Regions from separate parts of the Homo sapiens genome. Here region 2 is linked to region 1. Evidence: promoter capture Hi-C in human tissues and cell types (Jung and others, 2019). All regions are on one chromosome and are shown on one strand. The core of a region is centred on a gene start or on the middle of the fragment in contact, and the rest is flanking DNA. Distances in the headings are between cores, read along the strand shown. Region 1 holds the start of ARAP3 (ArfGAP with RhoGAP domain, ankyrin repeat and PH domain 3). Region 2 has its middle 98 kb from the start of SPRY4-IT1.

Region 1 (3,621 bases), core at 59-2,558:
ATTTCCTATTTGTAGGGATATTTGTGAGGATTAAAGTTTGCAAAGCAATGTTTACATAGATCCTGGAGCACGGTCAGCTCTCAATAATTGGTAGCCCTTATTATGGCTATTGCAATTATTATTTTATTACTATAATTCTCTTTCTCAAAGGGAAGGCCGGGAAAGTGGGGCTCCAGTAGGTTGAAGATGACAGTCCCTCCCCTAGCTGAGGCAGCTGGAAGAGGTGGGAACCACTTCCTCCCACTCCCCTCTTCTTCCCCTGAGGCAGGGGTCTTCCCCTAGCTACTGACAGTTCCTGTGTCTGCTGACTCACAGCCAACTTCCTCTCATACAAACAGGAAAACACAGCCGGCCAGCGCCCCCGCCACCCCCAACACATACACACACACACACACACACACACACACACACACACACACACACACACACACAAACACCCCCCCCCCACACCCAAACACTGGTCCTGCTCAGAGAGGGAAGTGCCTCCGCCCCTGGGAGACAGGCTCCAGGACCGGGGTTCCGGCAAGATTAGCGAAGGAGAGAAGGGCCATTCCTCTTCAGGCCTCCCCGGCATCCCCCCTGAAATTTTAGGGTGGGAGTTGGGGAGAAGGGGCGGCTTCTCCCATGAATGAAACAGCTGCTTGCTTGGTCACTGAGCTTGCAGGGCGTCCGCCTGTCCCAAAAAGGCAGCCCCAAACCTTGGTTTGGAAGTAGGGATGTGCCTTGCGGACCTTCATCCCTCGAAGGAACCTAGGCCGGGCCCTTGGGGATGGAAGTGGGGAGAAACAGACGGGTACCCCTCTGCTGGGCCTCTGCGCTTGTTGCCCAGGCCAAGTCTCAATTCTGGATGTCCAGCTTCCGTCCCCACACTAAACTGGTTGCCAGGGTCCAGCCACCCTTCCGGGCGTGGGAGAGGTGCCCTGGGGGATTAGGGCTCGACCTTTCCTCCTCCCTTTTGGCAGGACTGGAGGGCATGGGAGCAGCGGAGAGGATGCAAAGCCGTCCCTGGCACTCTCCCTTTCTCAGTTTCTACCTCCGTCCCAGTCTCCGTCCCGGTCTCTGCCTCTTTGTCCCTCTCCCTGAGGTTGTCTTCGTCCCAACGTGTTCTGGTCCTTTCTCGGCCTGCGAGAGGGCAGACTGGGGGCAGACTCGGAGATAAGCGCGGCGGTTGGGCAAGAAGCCCAAACCCTTTGGAGGCCTGCGCTTGCACAAGGAGTGGCCGGGGCCCCGCGGAGGGAACCGGCCGGGCGGGGCGGGGCTGGGCCCGTCGAGGGAGGGCAGAGGGGAGGCGGGGCCGGCGCGGCGGGACCCAGAACCTCGGACGAGCGGCGGGCACCCGCGAGCGGACGGCGGCCGCGTAGTGAGGTGAGGACCCCCGCGCCCCCCGGGTCCCTGCTTCCCAGACTCCTCCCCATCACCTTCTCGAGGGCCTTCGTGGGCTCCCAGGCCCCCTCGGCGCCGGCGGCCCTCCCCATCCCTGCCACGACCCGCCCCTCCCTCCTGCTGCCCGGCCTCTGCCCCATCCCTCCTCGCCCCCTCCCTCGTCGCAGCCTGCGCTGCCCGCCACTGCCCGCCCCGCCCCCGCCACTCCTGTCCCGCGAGCACCTCAGCTCCCAGCCCCGTGCTGTCGAGCCCGGCCTGAGTCACCGGGAAACCGGGCCCTGAGTCAGGGCCCGAGGCTCAGCACGCGGGCCCTGGCTTGGGAATGAGGCCCAGCTGGAGAGAGGCAGAGGGAGGCCAGCAGTGATGCTGGGACGGAGAGGGCGTCCTGGTCACCGACAGAGCACAAGAGTAACAGGGAGAGAGCCTAGGCCGAGGCGGAAGACAGAAACCCAGGCTCAGAGGCAGACAGAGACACAGATACAACTCAAGATCTGGTTAGAATTGTAGACTGAGTCAAGGACAAGCTTAATAACAGAGAGCAAAACAGGGTGGGACAAGGAGAGGGACAAAGAAGAATTGAGAGGTTGAGATGGAATGGGGCAGGGACAGTGACAAGGCAGAGATAAAACTCAGGGGCCACAGAATTAGAGACAGGTCTATGAAATAGACCAGGGTCAGGGTCGGGGTCAGGCTGGTGGAAGGGGGACAGAGCACAGAGACCTGAGCCCAAGGGAATGAGCAGGGAAAAGGCAAGCTCAGAAAAGGAAGGCTTGGAGAAAGCAGAGGTGGGGGGATGGCATTTCACACTGCCAAATCGCTACAGGGCATGTGCACACACAGGTGAACAGCATGTGAACATGCTGCCGGTGGGCAGAGAGTCCAGAAGCCTCTGGAGTACCCCTGACCAGAGGTCAGGCCTCATCTCTCTGGCATCCCCATCCTTATTCTTCAATTAGCCTCCACCCAGGGCCGGGACCCCACACATTAGGACTGGTTAGGGCTCTCCCGGCAGCCTGACCAAAGCAGGCAGGATGTGGAGGCGGCCAGGGCTGGAGGGACAGGAAGGAAGTCTGAGCAGAGACAATAGGTGGAAGGGGAGGAGGGACTGGGAACAACCAGGATTAGGACGGCAGGCCTGCATACATCGGCTCTGGAAACAAGAGGGAGGGGGCGTCTGCACCTCCTTCCTCCTATCTAGGCTGCCCCTCTCCCTACCTTACTCCAGAGCTGATTGGCCACATCATTGGCCCCTCCTCTGCATCTCCCTATCCCACTCTGACCCACAGCATTCTAGCATCTTGTCCCATGCTTACTCAGTTGGATGTGCAGTCAGGCAGGAGCAGAGCTTTGACCCAGACCCAGGGTGGGCAGGAACTGAGGGGCCAACTCTAGCACTGACTTACTGTGAACCTGGGGCAAGCCCCTTCCCCTCTCTGGGCCTCAGTTTCCTTAACTTCAAATGAAGTCCCTTCCCTAAGTAGAGAGCCATTGCTGTTGTTCTGGGATGGCTCTGCTTCCAGATCGCAGGCCTTTCAGCATCTTTCTTTGGAGGAAGATTGGAGGCTGGTGCTCACTGTCCAGGCCTCAGACTCTGGGGCAGAGAGGGGGATTCTCAGCCTGAGCCCTCCCTTCACCCTGCCCCTCCCCCCAGCAATGGCCTGAGCCCCCATGGCTGCCCCTCAGGACCTGGACATCGCTGTGTGGCTGGCCACGGTGCACCTGGAGCAGTATGCAGACACGTTCCGACGGCATGGCCTGGCTACAGCAGGTGCAGCCCGGGGCCTGGGCCACGAGGAGTTGAAGCAGTTGGGCATCAGCGCCACAGGGCACCGGAAACGCATTCTACGCCTGCTACAGACAGGCACCGAAGAGGGCTCCCTGGATCCCAAATCAGATAGTGCCATGGAACCATCCCCCAGCCCAGCCCCGCAAGCCCAGCCCCCTAAGCCCGTGCCGAAGCCCAGGACCGTGTTTGGTGGACTCAGTGGCCCTGCCACCACTCAGAGACCTGGGCTGAGCCCAGCCCTCGGGGGACCAGGAGTGTCCAGGAGCCCAGAGCCCAGCCCAAGGCCTCCTCCTCTCCCCACTTCCTCCTCTGAGCAGTCTTCAGCCCTAAATACTGTGGAGATGATGCCTAATTCCATCTACTTCGGCCTGGACTCAAGAGGCAGGGCACAGGCAGCTCAGGACAAGTGAGTGGAGTTGGCTCCCTAGGGACTGATGCTGGGAGGAGTGGGG
Region 2 (3,180 bases), core at 142-2,641, 540 kb before region 1:
CAAGTCCCTTTCGTGATCGGAAGGGGGAACTTCCCGATTTGATTGCAGAAAGCAATTTACTTCAATTAGCAGTGACATAAACAGAGTGATTGCTTAATAGGAGCACTGAATCTCTAAAAAATAAACAGCCTGAATTGCATCCTTTACCATTATATTAGCAGCATGGGATTGCTTTTCCCAAGACAGGTTTGATTAACTCTTTAGGAACCATCCTCACTCCTAAGCAGATCTCTTCAGAGCTCCTAAAAAGTCTTCACATCATGGTCCTGGCATTTGTTGTGCACCTCGGGCATATATGTTCATCAATTTGCTTGTTGCTTTAACTTTCAAGTCTTTTAATCCTCTATAATCCTGTGAGATATGTATTATTATGCTCATTTTTAACAGAGGGGGAAAATGAGGCTCAGAAAATTCATGGTGGTGATCTTTTCAAATACATACCTAATCATGTCATTCTCCTGCTTAACTTACCCTCGAAAGCCTTCCAAACCCCTCAGCATAGCCTCCAAAGCCCTGTGTGATCTGTTTCTGGCCTACTTCTCCCACCTCTGCTCAAACCACTTCTCCGCTTGCTCACCACATTTTATATTTTCAGGCCACTGCCTGTTTTGCAAGCGCGTCAAGCCCATTCCCATCTCAAGGCCTTTGCACTTGCTGTTCCCTGCGCCTGGAGCACTCTTCCTCCATTTCCAGAACTGACTTCTCAGCTTCCAGGACTCTGTTCAGAGGCTACGTCCTCAGAGAGGAGTTCCCTGTCCGTCCCATGTTCCCCACTCCCTTTCGGCTTTTGACTAACACTTAGCATGATCCAAAATTATCTTGTTTGTTTATAGTTGATGTATTTCTTGTTTGTCTCCCTCCTGGAATATAAGCTCCAGGGCGGCAGAGATCCTGTCTCCTGTTTGTCTTGTTCATTTGCACAGGGTCAAGCATACGGTAGGCAGACAGAAGATATTTGCTTAATAAAGGAAGTATTGTCCCTGCTTTTATACAGATGAGGAAATGGAAGTTGGGAGAAGTTAGGCCATTTCACAAGGTCAAACAGCTGGGAAGCAGCTCCAGGGGATTCACAGGATTCAGACATCGCTTTCTCCCATGCAGCTACACTACTTTTTTGAGGACTCTCCTTTCCTCCCTATTCTCTTCCCCCACCACCTTCTCACCTCCACCCTACCACCCCAGCCCCAGAAAGTAGGCACTCATCCAACCAGCCGGGAGAGCATTAAAATCACAACCACAAAGCAAAATCTCCTCTTCCTGTTTAAACTCCCTCCTGTGGTACTGATGCTTCTTAGCCGGACAGGGTCCCGCTCATTGCAAGAATGTGAATTCTGGAAGTTAAAGATCTTAACACCCCTCTCCCTCTGGCTCCCCACCTTGAAGGATTTAGATACCGAACTGGGCTCCCCTTAGGAAATGCATCCCCGGACTTGGACTGTGGAGGTAGTGGGCAAGATGTTTGGTGAAGCTTTCGCTGCCCTGTGACCCCACCCACCCCACAGCCAAATCCTACCCTTGGCCCAAGCTCCCCACACTGCCCAGTGAATTGGGGCTGTAAACTGGAGGAGGGAAGGCTGGAGAAGCCAAGGTCAGTGGCGGGAGAAGTGCAATGGGAGAAGACCAGGGAGAGGGTGAACACTGAAGAATTTGAGAGATGTGTGAGTGCCCCAGAATTGGGCTGTAGGGAAGTCGGCCTCCCTGAGCAGGCAGCCGTGTCGGGGCTGACCTGAAAGCAGAGGTCTGTCCCTTAGATGCTGGCTGGCTTTGGGGCTCAGAGTCTTCATCTGGTCCCTCCGCAGCATCACCTTCAGGAGAAGTTCAAGTGCAGCTGTCATTGCAGTCCCAGTTTCACTATCCATTCCCTGTGTCTCCTTGAACAGGGCTTTAACCTCTCTGAGGCCACTTCCTGCTTGATAAGGAGACCACATCGCCCACCCTGCTTCATATGCAGATTTCTTTTTTTTTTTTTTTTGAGACGGAGTCTCGCTCTGTTGCCCAGGCTGCAGTGCAATGGCGTGATCTCAGCTCAGTGCAACCTCCACCTCCTGGGTTCAAGTGATTCTCCTGCCTCAGCCTCCTGAGTAGCTGGGATTACAGGTGTGCACCACCACGCCCAGCTAATTTTTGTATTTTTAGTAGAAACGGGGTTTCACCATGTTGGTCAGGCTGGTTTTGAACTCCTGGCCTTGTGATCCACCAGCCTCAGCCTCCCAAAGTGCTGGGATTACAGGCGTGAGCCACCACACCCAACCATATGCAGATTTCAATAGTTTTTTTTTTTTTTTTTTTTTGAGATGGAGTTTCGCTCTTGTTGCCCAGGCTGGAGTGCAATGGCACGATCTTGGCTCACCACAACCTCTGCCTCCCAGGTTCAAGCGATTCCCCTGCCTCAGCTTCCCGAGTAGCTAGGATTACAGGCATGTACCACCATGCCCAGCTAATTTTGTATTTTTAGTAGAGACGGGGGTTTCTCCATGTTTGTCAGGCTGGTCTCGAACTCCCGACCTCAGGTGATCCGCCTGCCTCAGCCTCCCAAAATGCTGGGATTACAGGCATGAGCCACCACGCCCGACCAATAGTTTTATTTATTTATTTTGAGATGGAGTCTCGCTCTGTCACTGAGGCTGGAGTGCAGGGTGCGATCTTGGCTCACTGCAGCCTCTGCCTCCCAGGTTTAAGTAATTCTCCTGCCTCAGCCTCCCAAGTAGCTGGGATTACAGGCATGAGCCACCAAGCCTGGCTAATTTTTGTGTTTTTAGTAGAGATGGGGCTTCGCCATGTTGCCCAGGCGGGTCTTGAACTCCTGGGCTCAAGTGATCCACCACACCCAGCCCAGATTTCAGTAGCTTTAAATAAGAGAACGAATGGGAAAGTGCCCTGGAAGGTTTAAAGTATAAAGTATACTAAGGAGGTACTTTTGTTTTAGCCTAAATGGGAAAGAGACTTTCCCATTAACATTCTTTAAACATCTGTCAGAGGTGGCGTTTCCTATGCTCATTGAACAGGTATGGAAACAGGCTCACAGAGCAACTTGCCTCCAGCTACAGACCCCTGAAGTCTAGGTTTTAATCATTGTCTATGCTGAACGTATGCAGCTGGGACTAGATCCATTCAGACAAAATCCTGGCGAAAGGTGAAGGGCGGTGGGTGAGGGGTGTGGAGTACAAGACGCAGATGGGA

Evidence for each region. The method cuts DNA at HindIII sites, captures the fragments that hold promoters and counts their contacts. A contact is called where the count stands out against the background at its distance.
Region 2: a contact is called between a fragment that was not itself captured here and the fragment with the promoter of ARAP3 in region 1, in 2 of the 25 tissues and cell types used here (pancreas and spleen).

Annotation. Positions count from the first base shown.
Region 1 is chr5:141,679,917-141,683,537 of GRCh38, reverse strand. ARAP3 (ArfGAP with RhoGAP domain, ankyrin repeat and PH domain 3) reads left to right here and starts at 1,308. Exons shown (of 33, transcript NM_022481.6): 1 at 1,308-1,365; 2 at 3,035-3,575. The coding sequence starts at 3,052. RefSeq lists a silencer at 1,259-1,308. The HindIII fragment of the contact is 12,570 bases long and covers 1-3,621 here.
Region 2 is chr5:142,219,185-142,222,364 of GRCh38, reverse strand. No RefSeq gene overlaps it. Among named protein-coding and RNA genes, the nearest start is that of SPRY4-IT1, 98 kb to the left of the region's middle. The HindIII fragment of the contact is 6,422 bases long and covers 1-3,180 here.